Regions from separate parts of the Homo sapiens genome. Here region 2 is linked to region 1. Evidence: promoter capture Hi-C in 16 types of primary human blood cells and fetal thymus (Javierre and others, 2016). All regions are on one chromosome and are shown on one strand. Each heading gives the region's core, a stretch centred on a gene start or on the middle of the fragment in contact. The rest is flanking DNA. Distances are from core to core; before and after follow the strand shown. Region 1 holds the start of RSKR (ribosomal protein S6 kinase related). Region 2 overlaps PHF12 (PHD finger protein 12).

What was found. Contacts are between HindIII fragments. The CHiCAGO score rates a contact against its expected background, and 5 or more counts as called.
Region 2: a fragment that was not itself captured here is called in contact with the fragment with the promoter of RSKR in region 1 in 2 of 17 cell types (total B cells and activated CD4 T cells); the score reaches 5.6 in total B cells.

What each region holds. Positions count from the first base shown.
Region 1 is chr17:28,612,836-28,615,535 of GRCh38, forward strand. It overlaps RSKR (ribosomal protein S6 kinase related), which reads right to left and starts at 1,350. Exons shown (of 12, transcript NM_001174103.2): 1 at 1,252-1,350; 2 at 605-853; 3 at 427-510; 4 at 243-311. The coding sequence starts at 1,326. It overlaps BLTP2 (bridge-like lipid transfer protein family member 2), which reads right to left. Exons shown (of 39, transcript NM_014680.5): 39 at 1,611-2,411. The coding sequence ends at 2,229. All of the region lies in intron 2 of SPAG5-AS1 (SPAG5 antisense RNA 1), which reads left to right. The HindIII fragment of the contact is 13,614 bases long and covers 1-2,556 here.
Region 2 is chr17:28,929,075-28,931,774 of GRCh38, forward strand. All of the region lies in intron 2 of PHF12 (PHD finger protein 12), which reads right to left. All of the region lies in intron 1 of LOC101927018 (a long non-coding RNA gene), which reads left to right. Among named protein-coding and RNA genes, the nearest start is that of PHF12, 21 kb to the right of the region's middle. The HindIII fragment of the contact is 151 bases long and covers 1,187-1,337 here.

The DNA.
Region 1 (2,700 bases), core at 100-2,599:
CTGGTAATCCTAGAACCAGCAAATACTAAGGAATACACTGGGACATGCTTCAGAGATTTCCCTAGTAGGACATGGGAAAACTGTGTTGAGAGCTGATACTTTTCCCAGGATCTACTTTAGTGTTAAACTAGGCTGAAGCAGATGGATGAGGCAGAACCAGGAAAAGAAGGTGGGCAAGAAAGGTACTTTCCCTACCTGTGGCCTAGCTCTTCCCACAATCCTTTCCAGGACTCTGTGCATACCTGGATGCTAACCTCCTCTTTGCACTGCCTCACGGTATCCCTCTGTAGGACCTTTACCTTGGGCACCACCTATAAAAGGAGAGTAGTGATGACTCATAGATAGTGCTATTGAATTGTTTATTCCTCCCAACCTCTCTGGAATCAAGATTGGAAACAGAGACTAATGTGGTATCTACGCCCCTACCTTCACTGCAAATACAGCTTTCTGGGTGCAATCTAGCACCTTGAGGACAGTTCCAAAGGAGCCTTTAGCCACGAGGCCTAAAATCTGTACAGAGGAATGGAGAACAGGCCAGTTGAGACTGGTCATTTTTAACTTCTCCCAAAGACTGAGACCCCACTCAGGGATTCCACTGACTTACCTTCAGCTGCTGCTGCCCCCTAATGGGCCTAATGGGAAACTCTGGTAGAAAGAGGTTGATGAACTGAGGCACTGGCCACTCTGGCAGAGGCTTCTCTACCAGTACTGGGGCTGGCTTTAGGGATTCCTGGTGCAGATAGTGGTGCCCCCGTAGTTCCCAGAGTTCTTCCAGATCTGACCTGATGGTTCCCAAACCTGTCCAGAGGCTCTTCCAGCCTCGGGCCCAGGGACCCCGGATGTTGCCACCCTGCTGAGAACCAAGGGAGCCACTCTAAACTTTCTGCTCCTGAGGCATAGCAGGTTCCACCCATCTTACTAGGCACTCCCTCCCCTTAAGTCTCAACCCCTAGAGGTACATTTTTGAGCATGAGGCAAAATTCCCATTACCCTTGCTTTGTGCTAAGCCCCAGATTTCCTGGGCACAATTCAAATCCTCTAGGAAAATAATTGTTGGACATTTTCACCATGACGCATTAAGAGTACAGCCTGCACCTCAGTATTGGGCTGTGATGCTTTCATAGTACAGCCTCCCTGCCCCACCCCCACATTGGGTAATCACTTCCATGCTCCTAACCAGGAACTTCCCAGGACTCAAGCCCATGTCTCCCTCTCCTCCCCTCAGTAGGCTGCCAGAGCCCCACAGCCTACCTTGTGAGGGACAGCCACCCGGGTGTGTTCCCCCTGCTGGGTGTGCTGCCCCTGCCGACAGCTTACTGCTCCCATTCCCAGCCTCTGCCTCCTCTCTCTGCTAAATCTGCTGTCCCAGTTATATAAGCAATTCCTCTCCCTGATGCTGCGTGACACGAGCCCCGCCTCTTCCAGTCTGCAGAAACCCATCAGCATGGGGCCAGAGTCACACTAGGACTAGAAATTTCTGTGATACAGCTTCAGGGCAGAGGAAGGAAGGGGCCACCCTCAGAGTGGCAGCTGCAGGATGTTCTGGGTTGATGAGGGAGGAATACACAGATTGAATGCATGCACTCAACACACACACACAAAAATGAGCATCAAATTTAAAATATCTTTTTTTTTCTCTTTAAATCATTTTGCCATTCTCCAGGGTATATCCTACGGGGAAGGGTAGGGGACCCATGGCCAGCCCTGGCTCCTACTGCCATCCTCCCAAGTGAACTTAGCACAGAGACTGGGGAGGGGTTGACCCCCACTCCAGAACACCAATACCTCTTTCAAACATGACAGTGGAGTGAGGATCAGAGGATCAGCCCCCTCCCGTTTCCTGGCACAGAGGAAGGACAGTTACACTTAGAAATATATATATAATATATATATATTTATATATGTCTATAAAAATTTATCACACTTGATCAGGACTATCCCCCTACCCTTTCACTTGACCCCAAGGGAATAGGGTCCTGCCCTGGGCCCATTCCCTGGGTCTTGCTCTCTTGTTGCCTCTCTGGCCCTGAGCCTGATCAGTGTGAGACAGAACTCAGCATTACTGTCCACCATGCCCTGCAGCGAACAGACCAGGTGCTGAAGAGTGATGCCTATGGGCTCTGACACCCACAAATCCTCGTGGATAACGGGAAGCCCCTCCCACCCCACAAGTCCCTGGAGCCTGAGCCAGAGTCAGATCCTGTACTGCAGCCACTCGAATCGCCAAATCATTTGCGCCTGCCAAAGATGGACTTCTTGCCAGGGTTCTTGTCGCCCACACTTAAACCAATGAGGAGCCGGGCTTTCTCCTCCTCTTCCTGCTGTTGCATGTTCAGGTCCGATTTAGTTTCTAGCTTTCCCCGGACCTCAGAGCCTGTTGCAGACTTCAGCCTTAGCTTCTCTTTGATTACCTGGCAGATTGGAGAGGAGTAAAAGAAAATGTAAATATTAGTGGGCAGGCAGAATAAATCAAAATGAACCAAGACAATAAAGATTTATTAAACACATCCAAGGCACAATGGGGCAATTCACATACAATGGTCTCTGCTTTCAAGAAGCTTACAGTCTAATTATAACCCCTTCTAAACTTTAGGTTGTGTTAGCTCTCAGTTCCCTAAAATCAATGGTGCTATACGAAACACTCAGTAAACACTGAATTTAATAATCTGAGTGAGGTCATGGAGAGGGTAGGCATAGAAG
Region 2 (2,700 bases), core at 12-2,511, 320 kb after region 1:
GACAGAGTGAGACTCTGTCTCAAAAACAAAACAACAACAACAACAACAAAAACCACATTTATGCTTAAGAAATTCCTACCATTGAGTTCTTGGCTAAGTCACCTACTTGGAATGGTATGCAGGAAATTTTTCTTCAAATAATGGGGGAAATGGTAAAAAAAAAAAAAAATTGAGTATTTTTTTTTGAGATGGAGTTTTGCTCTTGTTGCCCAGGCTGGAGTGCAATGGTGCGATCTTGGCTCACTGCAACCTCCGCCTCCCATGTTCAAGCAATTCTCCCGCCTCAGCCTCCTGAGTAGCTAGGATTACAAGCATGCGCCACCATGCCTGGCAAATTTTTTAGTATTTTTAGTAGAGATGGGGTTTCTCCATGTTGGTCAGACTGGTCTTGAACTCCTGACCTCAGGTGATCCACCAACCTCGGCCTCCCAAAGTGCTGGGTGTACAGGCGTGAGCCACTGTGCCCAGCCAAACTTGAGTATCTCAGAGCTTAAAGCTATGCTGTTTTACCATTTCTACATAAAATAGCACTTGACTTGGCAAATTTTCTTAGCTCCCTGTTTCCCCAGAGCCCCAAGCTTACATGTCAGATGCCCACCAAGGCTTCACAGCTCATTACTTCCCTTCCTCCCTGTTTCCTTAGTGAAATCTCAGGAGGATGCTTACCAGGAATCAGGAAACTGGAAAAACAATGGCCTGCTGGGACAGATCTCCAAGCCCTAGAGGACCACAGGTGAATGTCACCTGTAAGTCTCCGCTCATTCTAGCCAATGTAATTCTACAAAAGGCCACATCTAAACTACTGAAATGCATGCAAGTAATTTTCAAAGGCCTACAGACTCTGCTATGCTTCAGTAGCTGTCCTATCAAAATTAACCCTGAAGGGTGTCACTTCTGATTCTGTTTCTCATCATTTCTGTTCATCTGCCCACTGGCTTTGTACCAAGATATCCTACATCAAACATTTAAAACATTTAAAGTAGAGAAGATAAGACCCCTGTGGCCAGAACCCTCTTCTTTCTCCAGCTCAATCAGTTGGCCGGCTCCCTACACAGACCATACTGTTTCTCATCTGTGTCTCTGCTCACTCCAGGGCTGCTACCCACAACTACACCACTCTTCCCTAACTACTTCACCTGGTAAGCTCTTTATCTTTTGAGACTCAAGTCACGTATTCTTTCCAGGAAGCTTTCTCTGAAAGTCTCTGGTTCCACAGAGCACTTCTGCACCACACTGTATTCAAACCATTACATGTCTGAATCCCCTTCTCCATGCCTCATTTGCCTTTGTACCTCCACACCCTGTACAATGCCTGGCATGTAGTAAGTACTCAATAAAGCTTTAAAGAACTGGGGAACACTAAGGAATGGGCTTCTAGGAAGTGAGTGTAATCCTTCAAAGCTATGAGGGGAGGTAATGCAATGGGGCAGGCAACTGTTTTGTGGGTTAAATCACACATGAAATTACTTATGTTTTCTAAGTTACTACACAATGAGACAGAAGAGGAGTCCAAGTCCATACTGGCAAGCCTGTACTTACTGAACCATCCCACCTCTACTCATTTTAATCTTCTTTAAACAATTTGATTTTCAATATCGTTTATCTTAACACAAGGTAAAATGCTTAAACTTGTATTAAGAGGCTCTCAGAAGTAGCATCTTGCTAGTTTCTAAAGGATCACTTTTAGAGTTACCAAGTTTAAGAACACACTTCTGGCCGGGTGCAGTAGCTCATGCCTGTAATACCAGCACTTTGTGAGGCCGAGGTGGGTGGATTGCTTGAGCCCAGGAGTTCAAGACCAGCCTGGGCGACATGGTGAAACCCCACCTCTACTAAAAATACAAAAAATTAGCCAGGTGAGGCGGCATGAGCCTATAGCCCCAGCTACTTGTGGGGCTGAGGTGAGAGGATCACTTGAGCCTGGGAGGTAGAGCCGTGATCGTGCCACTGCACTCCAGTTTGGGCAACAGAGTGAGACCCTGTCTCAAAAATAACAACAACAAAAAACAAACAAACAAAACCACACATTCCTCAGAACTCTAGATAATGACCACAGGCTCCCTTTGTTAAGCCTGCCCTAAAGTATGGATAGGGGCTATGAATTTAGGGAGTAGTCCAGGGAAACCCAAGCATTGTCTCCCAGATGAAGACAAAACATTTAAAAGACTGAGGCCATCATTCCTTTTTTTTTTTTTTTTTGAGACGGAGTCTTGCTCAGTTGCCCAGGCTGGAGTGCAGTGGCGCGATCTTGGCTCACTGCAACCTCTGCCTCCAGGGTTCAAGCGATTCCCTTGCCTCAGCCTCCCGAGTAGCTGGGATTACAGGTTGCCCGCCATCACACCCGGCTAATTTTTATATTTTTAGTAGAGATGGGGTTTCACCATGTTGGCCAGGCTGGTCTTGACCTCCTAACCTCAAGTGATCCACCCACCTCAGCCTCCCAAAGTACTGGGATTACAGGCGTGAGCCACTGCACCTGGCTGAGGCCATCACTTCTTAAGATCTGCTTTTTTTTTGTTTGTTTTGAGATGTAGTCTCACCGTATCACCCAAGCTGGAGTTCAGTGGCGTGATCTCGGCTCACTGCAACCTCTGCCTCCTGGGTTCAAGTGATTCTCCTGCCTCAGCCTCCCGAGTAGCTGGGATTACAGGTGCCTGCCCCCATGTCCAGCTAATTTTTGTTTTTTTTTTAGAGATGGGG